3 separate regions of the Homo sapiens genome follow, and all the other regions are linked to region 1. The links are contacts of gene promoters, found by promoter capture Hi-C in human tissues and cell types (Jung and others, 2019). All regions are on one chromosome and are shown on one strand. Each heading gives the region's core, a stretch centred on a gene start or on the middle of the fragment in contact. The rest is flanking DNA. Distances are from core to core; before and after follow the strand shown.

Region 1 (4,475 bases), core at 490-2,989:
GTGTAAGAAGCCCCTGACATTACTATTTTTCCCTGATGCTTCTTCTTGAAATGTCAGTTACCAAATTCATCCTAAAGATTGTTTTAGTTTCCCACTTTTTCCCTTTCCTCATAGTTGGTTGATTATTGTTTAATCCAGCAATGATGAAACACCCTTTACAAACATAAAGATTCATTTCTAACATGAACATTTTTTATTACAGCAACTCCTTTGCTCCAGTTATTATGAAATCAATCATTTTACTTCCCAACCACTGGTGTTTTCCCGAGGGGCTCTTGTTAGCCAAGCTACCATTGATAAGTGCTTATTCTGTTAATATTCCTTTGAAACCCATTATAAACATTCCTTTTACCCAGAAACTCAGCAGTCCCTGGGAGGTGACTAAAGGGAGGATGGCAGGGCAGAGGGGAGCTCATTCAGTCCTGCAGACCTCATGCTGCCCAAGTTGTTTGTCCATTTTTTCAGCACCCATGCACTGTCACCTTACATGCATGCAAAGGGCCAAGCTGTTTATCCTGACCATGGAGAAGGACTAAGCAGGTAACAAATGCTAATTTCTGAGGTCAGGCAAGGCACTTTATATTATCCCTTTTTGAAGCCAATATCCAGGTATAGGGCAGGATGGGAAGGTTCTGAGCATCCTGCATATTTACAAGTACTTTGCTACATTTAGTAAGAACTGATTAGTGGTCATACCCATGGAAGTCAAAAACTCTAGCATGGTGGCTCATCCTTATAATCCCAGCACTTTGGGAGGCTGAGGCAGAAGGATCAGTTGAGTCCAGGACTTCAAGACCAGTTTGGACAACACAGCGAGACCTCATCTCTACAAAAAATTTTTAAAATTAGCTGGATGTGGTGGCGCCTGTATTCCCAGCTCCTAGGGAATCTGAGACCAGAGGATCAGTTGAGCCCAGGGATTTGAGGCTGCGGTGAACTATGATCCGGCCACTGCACTCCAGTCTGGGCAACAGAGTAAGACTCTGTCTCAAAAACAAGCCTCTTACAGTTTGGTTACATTTTTAGAAGATTAAGCACATGCCTTAAAAAACATGGGCAAAGAAAGGCACGGAAGAAAACTTAAAAAAACTTGATATTAAAATTTTGAAGCTGAGCTGTTCGATATAACTACAGTCACATGTGACTATTTAATTTTAAGTGAAAATTAAGTAAAATTAAAAATTTCCTCAGTGGGACGAGCATATTTCACCTCCTTTATAGGCCATGCGTGGCTAGAACAGATGGAAAACATTTCCATCATCGCAGAAAGTTCTACTGGACAGCACTGTTCTGAAGTGTTTAATTTGCCATCATGGAAAAGAAATAAAATTCACTGAATGTCCTTAAATCTGTTTTATGATTTGGCATTGTGTTTAAGTCTGGATTGCACATTTAGGATAGAGGTAAGAGGACCACACTATTTTCAGTGTCTGGAGACCTCTAAAGACTCTAATTCGACCTTGGCCAAAACGATCCTTAACAGCATTTATATGCTTGATCTCCTCTCCACGCAGCCCATCAATAAGCCATTGCGCTCCACGGTCACACTTCAGCACTCCCAATACACCAGGCAGACACTGAGTACGAGTCTCGGCTGGTGTCCTAGCAACAGCGACGCGACCCCGCCCCTTCCCGCGTACACCTCCTACCTTATTAGCCTGGAAGGGGCGGGACCAGGGGTCCGTGCCCAATAGGAAGGGAGCAGAGGAGTGAGTCCTGGCCGCGTCCCCGTCGCTAGGGAAACCGATGCAGCTGGAGGCCGCGCGCGATGCGGCTCGCGGAGGAGCGGGCCGCGCTCGCGGCGGAGAACGCGGATGGGGAACCCGGCGCCGACCGACGACTGCGACTCCTGGGGACCTACGTGGCCATGAGCCTGCGGCCGGCTGCGGGCGCCTGGGAGCGTTGCGCGGGGAGTGCTGAGGCGGAGCAGCTGCTCCAGGCCTTCCTGGGCCGCGATGCTGCCGAGGGGCCGCGGCCGCTGCTGGTGGTGCGGCCCGGGCCCAGGGGCCTGGCAATACGCCCCGGGCTGGAGGTGGGACCTGAGTCGGGCCTGGCTGGCGCTAAGGCGCTTTTTTTCCTTCGCACCGGGCCCGAGCCTCCAGGGCCCGACAGCTTCCGCGGCGCAGTGGTCTGCGGGGACCTGCCCGCGGCACCTCTGGAGCACCTAGCCGCGCTGTTCTCGGAGGTGAGGGTGGGTTAGTGTCCCCGCGCGGCTAAAGCTGGGTGGGGGAGGGGAGGAGGAGCCTTAAGGGACGGAGGCGGGGCCAGAGGGGGCGGGGCGAAGCTGCAGGGGAGGTCCAAGAGGCGGAGTGATAGGCAGAGGGGCGAGGCTGTGGAGGGAGCACAACCAGGAGGGAAGTTCCTGAAGTCAGGAAGAAAATGGGATGGGGTTAGGGGCGGAGTCGGGTGGGTCCGGAGGGAGGGATCTGGGTGGAGGCCAGGCCAGAATGAGAATGGGAAGGAGCTGAGGCTTGGGTCAGTCCGGGTCTGGGTTCCAGCCAAAGTCAGGGGAAGACCATAATCTGAAGAGTGCCTAGGTTCTGACTACTTTCAAAATCAGCCTCTCGTAATCCCTCCTGTAAATTGGAAAGATCTGAAGAAGATGGGAAGTGGACAAGACGGCATTTCTGATGGATCAGTGGGGTGGAAGGAGGTGGATGGCTATAAACAGTGCCTACTTCTGGAGAGCAGTTAAATGGGAGGGGGAGGTGGGTAGTGATTTGCTTTTGATTTTCATCTCATTCATTCATTACCAACCATTTAGCAAAGGTCAGCCCTGTGCCAGCATAAGAAGTTGGGCTCCCATTTGGAAATGCCCAGCAGGCCTTTGGAGGAGTCTGCCTGAAGCTCAGGGAGGAAGGTGGAGATGTGGGTCATGAGTGCTTTAGTGGCACCACAGCAGAAGCTTCGAGAATGCAGGAGATTTCAGGGAAGTGCTCCAGAGAGATTCCTGGGCCCCTTAGACCTTTCTGGAATGGGAGTAAACTGCCCTGCAAGTCAGGCTGTGTGCTTATGGAGGCTTGATGCCCTGGACCCTGCAGGTTGTGAAATAAGGATGGGCAGAATACTGGCTGTATGATGGTTCAGGTGATAGGTGCTATAGGGAATACCAAAGAACTATTCCCACCCATGAAATGCTTACTCCAAGGAGCTGAAACGTATGTAATAATTCATATATTCAAAATGTTTCAAACTTTTAAGACTGGGGTGAGGGTAAAGCTTACCTAAAAGTTGGCCCCACTGCTGGATGCAAGTCCTGGAGTCTCCCTGCTATGTCAAGTGTAAGCCCTTTAGATGGTGTATCAGGAGGCTGTGGGGAGGTGAAAATTCCAGGGAAAGGGTTGGATAGATAGAGGAGGACACAGAGGGCCCAGGAAGCTAGATCTCTTAGATATGGAGGTATTTCAATATTTTAACAAACAGAATGGTCTTGCAACTGTGCATTGTCTGAAAGCCATCCCGCTGAAGCCTGAACTTAGATCAGCTTCTCTAATGAATGTTGACGATAGAAAGTACTTTTGGCTTCAGAGGAGAAAGACAGGCCTGTGATCTGAGAAGCATGCTTAACATAAGTGTTGAATTGTCTCCTGAACAATTAGAAGAATTTGTATAAGTAGAGAGCAAGGTAACTTTCAAGATACTGAGAGCAGACTGATCAAAGGTTCAGAGACAGGATTTAACCTAGTGTATGTGGGAGACAGAAGGCCCATCTCAGAGTTGTGTCATGGCCAAGCAAAGTAGTCCAGCAAGAAAAATAATTTTAAAATAATGAAAATTCTCGAATGTTTAAGAATTTTCATTGGTGCATTGAAAGAGATTGGAGACAAACAATGTTCATCAACAGGGGACTGGGTGACTGAATTATGGGCCATCTATACAGTGAAATACTTTGCAACTATTAAAAAGAATGACTGATATGGAATATTCCTTTTTTTGAGGCAGGGTCTTGCTATGTTGACCAGGCTGGTTTCAAACTCCTAGACTCAAGTGATCCTCCTGCCTTGGCCTCCCAAAGTGCTGGGATTACAGGTGTGAGCCACCATGTCCAACCGGAGTTATTCCTTAGGGTAATTTTTTCCTTGTGGCAAAAAAAACACATGACGTAAAATTCACCCAACAATTTCCAAGTGTAGAGTACAATATTGTCAACCACATATGCATTATTGTGCAACACATCCTCAGAACTGCCCCGTCCAGCATCACTGAAACTCCACACACACCCAGCAAGCCACACATCGCTCCCCTGAGCTCCTGGCTAGCACCATTCTACTTTCTGTTCCTATGAACCTGACTCATCATATAAGTGGAATCATGCAGTATTTGTTCCTTCTGACTGACTTATGTCACTTAGCATAATGTCCTCAAGGTTCATCCATATCGTCACCGCCTATCGTCATATGCGGGATTTCTTTCTTTTTTTAACAATATTCTATTGTATGTATATACCACATTTCTAAAAAATTTATCCATCATAG
Region 2 (4,519 bases), core at 957-3,456, 140 kb before region 1:
CAATGAATGAATGACTCAATGCAATGTCATCCTGTACTCCTTATTTAAAATAAAATAAAAGAGAGGGAGTTTGTGGAGATTTCATATGGGATAATAGCACCTACTTCATAAGGTTAGAATTGAAATGAGTCAACATATGCTGAACACCTACAACAATGCCTGGCACACAGCAAACGTGATGTAAATGTGAGACTAAAAATAATAATGATGGAAGCAAATTCATGGAAGAGGAGTTCCAGCCTTCTTAGGAGAACAAAACTGTTTATTCCTTTCACAAATATTTACTGAGTCTGCACAGATGGAAGTGTGTGTACAAGCGTGGAAGTGTGTGTACAAGCGTGGAAGTGTGTGTACAAGCGTGGAGAGCGTCACACCCAAATGGCACTCTTCACAAGAACAGAACACAGACCCTTCACACTTTGCTCCCAGAAGAGCCCAGGAGTAAAGGTTCTCACCCCGCTGAGCATTTCCTTTTCCCTGACACCCCCAATTTGCACAGAAACCATGGGAGAGGGGTCACATTCCATTTTAGAAGGCGACATCCTCACAGCAGGGCACTACGCTGGGTACTATTTGTATCTGCAGTGGGTGCACTACCTACTGGCCATCGAAAACCCTTCTGGTCATCGAAAAGCTCTTGGGAGTACCTTTGCACTCAAAGCAATACACATCATTTTAAGATATTCTCCAAATCCTGTTGATACTAAAATGAGTGCATTTTCTTCTAGGGTGCGTGAAGGATTGAGGTTTGACCGTAGATGTTCAAATATATGGAAGTCCATATTGTCTTAACAGCACCCAGACCTGTCCTCCCAACAATTTAAAATTGTCATGGTTAGAAAGGCGCTTTGTAAATGTAAACCCATCGCTTTACCTTTCCAAGGGCATTCTTTATGAGATGAGTCATGAAAGCATCCTTGTGCATGCAGGAGGCATTTACTAAATGCACATTTTCAAAAAGTGGTGGGAGACGGAGGACCGGAGGGAGGGAGGAGGATACACCAACAGCACATGGGCCCTGCCAAACCCACCTCTGTTACTTGATATGGATGGTCATACCGGTTGTGCTCTGCACCGAGGCACCTGGTGGAGGGAGCCATTTTGCTCACTGGGGCTGTGACTTCCCAGGGGAGTTCTCCTCTTCCTAAGTGCCTTCCAGAGGCACTCAGTGTGCCGACAGTCACCTGGTTCCATAAGCAGTCTCCTTCACAAACAGAAATAAGCAGAAACTGGACCCTGGGTATGAGCACAGCTAAGTTCTAGCCTGGATTCTGCCACTAACTTAAGACTCTTCCCTCCTCTAGCTCCAGGCATCTACATCCATAAGATGATGAATTCAGACAAGATAGTTGGTTTTCACACATTTTGTTTTGTAGCTGCAGAGCCATGTCCTCCAGTGAAATAGTTCTTTGAACCTCCTAAGTGAAGCAAATGACCTTGAGGCCACGCTGTCGGAGGTGGGAGGGGACCTGAGCCCTTAGCCCTCACCAGGGCTGGACCGCCCCCCTCTGCACACGAAGAACTGCAGGACTTGGAGGCTGTCTCAAATATTCTCTTTAGGGCTATATTTCTGGGATTTTATAAGAACCTGTCAAGCAAGAAAAACTCCCCAGAGATTATAGAGTGTTACACACAGATAGAAATAATAAGACCCACAATTCCACTGTGTACCCTGGCCATTCAACTGGGGGATGCTTTTCAAGTCTTTCTAGCAGGGTCCTCAGCTCCTGTAGGCTGTCACTCATCCACTTCCCTTCATCGAAGCTTCTGGCTCTTTGCCACTACCTACAATCTCATCCAGTTCTCTGCTGTGCCGTATGCTCCCTTGATATTGGGAGATTCTTAAAAGAAGTCAGTCCCCCTTGTCAGTTCCAGCTCTCTCAAGAGCCTATCTGCAAATCTCTGCCTCATTGAATATGCATGGTGACCAACTGAATATTTATGATGCCCCAAAGTCTCCAAAGGGCCCCAGCGTTTCGAATGCATGCAGCCCTCCCTGGTACCCATTCCGTAGCTCCCCAGTGGTGTCCCTGCCACTCATCTCTACCCTGCACTCCTTCTCCTTTACTGTTGATCCTAATCCATCAATCCTCAGTCTTCCCGAGGAAGCTTTTCTGAATTACACCACCACCCATGCAGTCGACAGTTACAACACAGGTTAAAATCTGTCTTTTGGAATAGAAGCTTTCCTTGCACAGGGAAATGCCAGTTTCTCATTAACTTCCATAAAGGTAGATGAGATAGGCCGGGCACGGTGGCTCATGCCTGTAATCCCAGCACTTTGGGAGGCCAAGGCAGGCAGATCACGAAGTCAGGAGTTCGAGACCAGCCTGCCCAACATAGTGAAACCCTGTCTCTACTAAAAATGCAAAAAAAAAAAAAAAATTAGTTGGGTATGGTGGCATGTACCTGTAGTCGCAGCTACTTGGGAGGCTAAGGCAGGAGAATCGCTTGAACCCGGGTGGTGGAGGTTGCAGTAAGCCGAGACCACGCCATTGCACTCCAGTCTGGGTGACAGAGTGAGACTCAGTCTCAAAAAAAAAAAAAAAAGACAGATGAGATAGATAGATGCCTTCCATAAAAATAGAGAATGCCTGGGCCGGGCACGGTGGCTTATGCCTGTAATCCCAACACTTTGGGAAGCTGAGGCAGGTGGATCACGAGGTCAGGAGATTGAGACCATCCTGGCTAACGTGGTAAAACCCCGTATCTACTAAAAATACAAAAAATTAGCCGGGCTTAGTGGCGGGTGCCTGTAGTCCCAGCTACTTAGGAGGCTGAGGCAGGAGAATGGCGTGAACCTGGGAGGCAGAGGTTGCAGTGAGCCGAGATCACGCCACTGCACTCCAGCCTGGATGACATAGCGAGACTCTGTCTAAAAAAAAAAAAAAAAAAATAGAATGCCTGAAAAAACAGGGTCTTACACTTACCATGTGTTAAGAATTGCCTTAAATACTTCACCAGACTTATCTTAAGTCCAACCAGTGAGTATCTTCTGGGTGATAATGCAACTTCTTCAGGCTTCGGTTTTCTCATCTGTAGGTGGTGAACATGTCTGCCTATTGTGATGTTACCTTAATGAAATGATGAAAAGAAGTCAACCTTGCAAAGCTAGTTGGTGGGCTCTGATAGTAATGTTCCTCCTCTCTCTTTGTTCTTCACTCTCCCCTCCCCTGGGTGTGTTGTCAGGGAATAAAGAAAGCTCAATATCCCAAGGAGTGAGCTCTGAGCCCTACAGAAGCAGACGCCGAAGAAGGAGTGATGATTTCTGTCGCCACGCTGTTGAGTGTAGCAGACCATGTGCTAATGAGGATGGATGAGGCTGTTTGGTAGAAAGGATCTGCTCTCCTGGAGGAGACCAAACTATGGATGCAGACAATTGATGGCCAGGATGAGGGGCCCCTCTGCAAACTCTCAGGCTGAGCCAGGCCCCCTTATTCAGTGCACAAACCCACTTTTCTATCTTCTGGGAGAACCAGCCTCCAGTGCAGCATCTTCTGACCCATGCTACTCTCCTGAGAAGATAGCATAATGCTCCTCCCAGATTTAGACAGGCTCCACATGGATCTGCTGCTTACTCCCTGTGTGGCCTTTGAAAGGTCACTTAACCTCTCTGGGTCCCGATGTCTCACTTGACAAACAGGCATAATCCCGGCCTGTTCCCATCGTTGGGTAGTTGTGAGAATTAAAAGGAGTTATGGTGTAAAAGACATTATGGGCCGGGCATGGTGGCTCACGCCTGTAATCCCAGCACTTTGGGAGGCCGAGGCAGGCGGATCATGAGGTCAGGATCAGGAGATCGAGACCATCCTGGCTAACACGGTGAAACCCCGTCTCTACTAAAAAAAAAAAATGCAAAAAAATTAGCTGGGCGTGGTGGCAGGCACCTGTGGTCCCAGCTACTCGGGAGACTGAGGCAGGAGAATGGCATGAACCTGGGAGGTGGAGCTTGCAGTGAGCCAAAATCGCACCACTTCACTCCAGCCCGGGCGACAGAGCGAGACTCCATCTCAAAAAAAAAAAAAAAAAAGACATTATGAATACAAGACTAATTTCAAATATCTCATCCTTTCATGAAGCCCTCCCCTACCCTCCTACACTGAATTAATCTTGTATTGCTCTGGACTGCCTCCTGAATACTAATAATATGCCCCTGCTATAGCATTGCTCAGAGTCTGCCCTGGATAATAAGGAGTTATTCACATGCATTTGTTGGCCTGCTAGACCATGAGCTGTATGAGGCAGGTGTACAGGGTATGGCTCTTATGCATCTCTGTGTACACCTCTGCAGGCAGCACAGTGCCAGGCACATGGCACATGTACAGTAAGTGTTTAATGAAATAATCAAGACCTCTTTCTGCCTGGATCCAGCCTTCATGTTAGGTTTTATGTGCTGTTTAATATCTGCAGGTAGAGGAAAGGTTCTGTGAAGGTCCACACTCCCTAGCCTGCGTGACAGTCCCCAGTTGAGCAAGCTGGTGATATAAGTGGGAAAAAATGGGAAGTTTACGGAGTCTGT
Region 3 (4,573 bases), core at 1,329-3,828, 230 kb before region 1:
TCTTGGTCTTCATACAAATGAAGCCATGTGACATGCATTTTTTTGTGTGTTTGGCTTTCACTTAACGTTATATTAGTGAGAGTTACCCATATTGTTACATCTGTCACCAGTTCACACTTTTTGAAGTATTTCACATAATTTTTCACATAAGTATTTCACATAAGTATTTATGTGGTATATTGTAAATATGCCACAGCCTATTTATTCAATCACCATTTGATGGACATTCTGGCTATTTTCAATTCTTTTACTATTTTAAATAAAGCTGCAATAAATATTCTTGCACATGTCAATTGACGGACATATATTCATTTCTCCTGGGTAAATTTTTAGATTTGGAATTGCTGGAATATAGAATGGAAATATTTTATCTTCAGAACAAACTACCAACAAGCTTTTCAAAGTGGTTTATCATTTTGCATTCCCACCAGCAGTGTATGAGAGTTCCAGTTGCTCCACATCCTCACCAACATTTGGTATTGCCAGTCTTTTTAATTTTAGCCATTCTGGTGAGTGTAAGGTGGTATTACATTACAGTTAAAAGTGTAGACTTTCTTGAAGCCATGAAAAATCTGTATTTGAGCCCTAGGTCTTCTATTCATGAGGTAAGTGAAGGGGAACAAGAAACCTAAACACTCTGAGACTCAAGTTTCCTCACCTATAATACAAAGGATATTCTTGACCACCTCAAGAAGTTTTCTGAAGATTAAATGAGGTAGTGATTACAAAGCAGAAGCTCTCGCTCATAAATACTTAGTATTAAATAATAACTATTATAGCTACTGTTATTATCATTATTATTATTACTACTGCAATTGATACTATTCAGGTAAAGAAATCCCTTATTCTATTAAGGTTGTCCTACATATAAGGATATTATTGGTTGAAATTATTATTATTATTATTATTTGAGTTGGAGTCTCACTCTGTTACCCAGGCTGGAGTGCAGTGGCACAATCTTGGCTCACTGCAACCTCTGCCTCCCAGATTCAAGCGATTCTCTTGCCTCAGCCTCCCAAGTAGCTGAGATCACAGGCACTCACCACCACATCCAGCTAATTTTTGTATTTTTAGTAGAGATGGGGTTTTACCATGTTGGCCAGGCTGGTCTCAAGCTCCTGACCTCAAGTGACCCACCTGCCTTGGCCTCCCAAAATGCTAGGATTACAGGCGTGAGCCACTGCACTCAGCCAAATTATTTTTAAAGTTATATTTTTATGTTATAAAGTTTTCTTAGACAGTTGACAGGAATTTAATAATATTGAGAGAAGTTCATTTAGTCCGTTAATCCATTGGCAACTATCAACAGATATATCCTATGTGCCCAGCACTGCTCTAGGTACAGGATATCCCTCTTGTGGAAGCTTTAAGAAGGGAGATGGACAATAAACAATAACCAAGTAGGTGAACAAGATAGTTTTATAGAATGATACATGCCCTTGATGAAAATACAGTAATGTGATAGAGAATGTTGGGGAGCCTACAATAGATTGGGTGATTAGAGAAAGTCTCTCTCAGGAGGCAAGCCTTACAATAAAAATCTAAATGATTAACAAGAATCTAGGTTTACAAACATCTGAGGACAGAGAGTTCCAGGAAGAGGGAACTGCAAGTGCAAAGGATGTAAGACAGGCATAAGCTGGGAATGCTAGAAAAACAGAAGGAATTTGCTATGGCTATAGGGAGCCAAGGGAAAAGTGGTGTGAGGGAGGGAAGCTGGCAGGGCCATGGTGTGTAATGTCCTGTAGATTATTTTACATTTGTATATATGTATATTTTTGAGACAAGATCTCATTCTGTTACCCAGGGTGGAGTGCAGTGACAGGATCTTGGCTCACTGCAACCTCCACCTCCCGGGCTCAGGTGATCCTCCCACCTAAGCCTCCTGAGTAGCTGGGACTACAGGCACATGCCACCATGCCCAGCTAATTTTTTGTAGAGGTGGGGTTTCGCCTTGTTGCCCAGGCAGGTCTCAAGTGCCTGAGCTCAAGTGATCTGCTTGCCTTGGCCTCAGAAAGTGCTGGGATTACAGGCATGAGCCACTGTGCCCAGCTACATTTGTATGTTAAGTGTAATATGACGCCTTGGAAGATTTTAAGGAGAGGCATAGAATGAGCAGATGTCTATTTTTAGGAGAAGACTTTTCTGTGTGTTATGCAGAGAATCTAGAGAGTCGATGGAAGTGGGTAAGGAGTGGAAGCAGGAAGCTCAGTCCTCCTGCTGTAGCAGGTCAGATGAGGGATGGTGGCAGCACTCCTGGGAGGTGGCAGGACAGATGGAGAAGAGTGGGTGGATGTGAAATGAAGCTTGCAAATCGTCCTGATGGGCCTTGCTGATGATAGGGAGGAGAAGATGAAGAGAGGAATAAAGGCTCTAGAACAGAGGAAGCAATGACAAGAAAGACTGGAGGAGAAATGGTGTATGTGGAGGGTTGCAGGAATAAAGTTTTCTTTTGGCCATTGTCATGGGTTAAATTTTGCCCCCATAAAAGATATGTTGAAGTCCGAATTGCTGAACCTTACTTGAGATCAGGATTTTGGCAGATATAATCAAATTAAGATGAGGTCATACTGAATTAGGTTGGACTTTAATCCATATGATAAGGATTTATGGTGATAAGAAGAACGGAAAGGAGAGATGGACAGACAGACCTACAGGATGGGCAAGAGGGAATTGAGGACAAACTGTGAGGCAAAGAAAGTTACTATCAGCAACTCTTTTGACATTTCATAGAGAAGGACAGTGGAGAAATGGGACGGTGACTTGGCTGGGGGAATGGGGTGAAGGGAGAATAGAACATGTAAAGTCATAAGAGTTGAGAAGTTTCAGTATGAATGAGCCCATTGAGGGAGAGAAATTGATGACTGAGGAGGAGAGGGAGAATTTCAGGAGCTAAGTCCTTGAGATGATGAAAAGGGATAGGCCATGCTTGGAACAAGGACATTGGACTCACTTTCATAGCAGGGAGGACAGAGAAAGGGGATGGCTGTAAATTCCCTGTGAACAACAGAGTTCCTTTCCGATGAGGCAAGGTCATGAGTTGAAGGGCACAGAGAACAGGGAACACTGGAGGTTTCAGGAACAGCAGAAACTATAAAAAACATTTGGGAATTGGAAGAACCAACATTCCAGGGAAGGAAAGCACAATTCCCAAGAGGTGAGGGGCCCTTTGAAACTTGTGGTTCTCAATTCTAAGAGACCCTGGGCAGTCACAGTGATATTGGTGAACACACCCCAGGTGCTGTTCTAAGCCCTTTACATCTAAAGTCCCACATCTACTAGATGTAGCTGGTGGGCTCTCACCACTGGCGGTTTTGCTGAGTGAATGCATGGAATGAGATGGAGGCTGAGGATGCTGAGGATGGACCATGCCAACACAACTGGATAAGGAGGCAAGGAAGGCTCAGGGTATAACAGTCTGCAAATGAAATCACCTTCCTACTGGGCATTACAGTCTGAAAAATAGTTTAGCCCCTCAAATTTTCTCCCTCTCCAATTGTTTATTTTGCTCTGGGTTGGAAAGTTCTCTCTTAGGTGCTTGGGAAGAGGTGTGGTCCCTTGAGCAGATGCTGGCCGGACAGCTCCCCCACCTAGAGTGCTTATAGTTCCATCATCTTCCCAAAGTTGAATTAATCTAACCCCAAGTCACTCACATGACCCACTTTTCCAAAGAATCAAGAGACAATAGATGACAAAATCCCACAAGACGCTCTATACACGTGACTACATTTGGACAATACAGTACAAGACTCGGTGTGTCCAAGCAAATTCTGTCTCAGAGCCAAGGACATGGTCCAACCCACACAAACATGAAATTTCCCAGCATGTCAGGAGCAAGACAGGGATCACAGAATCACAGAGGAACCAGTGCAGGCAGGTGTGAGATGGAGCGCTTCCTTTTGGAGGTGAGATGAGCTGACGTGTTTTCTCCTACTAATCTTAATTAGCGGGTCTGTTTTTTCCAAAGCACATTCAGGAGAATCGCAGTGAGTGCCCTAAACCATGACATTACCAGCATGAAAACTGATACTCTCCCAGAAGTATGGGGTAGAGAAGAGTCCTTCCTGGAGCTTTGAATAATTTTGGACTTAAGACTCTTCCTTGACTTTCTCCCTGGAATATTTTGAAATATTCAGTATACTTGAGTTTTGCTCTTCTAGTAGTAATGGTAGTAGTACTAGTAATGATAGTAACTATTTATCAAATAACTGTAAGGGGCACTGTGCTTTATATGAATTGTTGGGGTTTTTTGTTTTTCGTTTGTTCGGTTATTTATTTATTTATTTTTTGAGACAGAGTCTTGCTCTGTCGCCCAGGCTGGAGTGCAGTGGCACAGTCTTGACTCACTGCAACCTCTGCCTCCCAGGTTCAAGTGATTCTCCTGCCTCAGCCTCCTGAGTAGCTGGGATTATAGGTGCGTGCCACCATGCCCAGCTAATTTTTGTATTTTTAGTAGAGACAGGGTTTCACTATGTTGGTCAGGCTGGTCTCGAACTCCTGACTTCGTGATCCGCCCACCTCAGCCTCCCAAAGTGCTGGGATTACAGGCATGGGCCACCGAACCCGGCCGAAT

What was found. The method cuts DNA at HindIII sites, captures the fragments that hold promoters and counts their contacts. A contact is called where the count stands out against the background at its distance.
Region 2: a contact is called between a fragment that was not itself captured here and the fragment with the promoter of DNAH9 in region 1, in 2 of the 25 tissues and cell types used here (H1 embryonic stem cells and spleen).
Region 3: a fragment that was not itself captured here is called in contact with the fragment with the promoter of DNAH9 in region 1 in 2 of the 25 tissues and cell types used here (H1 embryonic stem cells and mesenchymal stem cells).

The regions. Positions count from the first base shown.
Region 1 is chr17:11,596,731-11,601,205 of GRCh38, forward strand. DNAH9 (dynein axonemal heavy chain 9) reads left to right here and starts at 1,740. Exons shown (of 69, transcript NM_001372.4): 1 at 1,740-2,185. The coding sequence starts at 1,769. The HindIII fragment of the contact is 9,113 bases long and covers 1-3,062 here.
Region 2 is chr17:11,455,207-11,459,725 of GRCh38, forward strand. All of the region lies in intron 3 of SHISA6 (shisa family member 6), which reads left to right. Among named protein-coding and RNA genes, the nearest start is that of DNAH9, 140 kb to the right of the region's middle. The HindIII fragment of the contact is 3,898 bases long and covers 258-4,155 here.
Region 3 is chr17:11,364,386-11,368,958 of GRCh38, forward strand. All of the region lies in intron 2 of SHISA6 (shisa family member 6), which reads left to right. Among named protein-coding and RNA genes, the nearest start is that of SHISA6, 130 kb to the left of the region's middle. The HindIII fragment of the contact is 3,398 bases long and covers 880-4,277 here.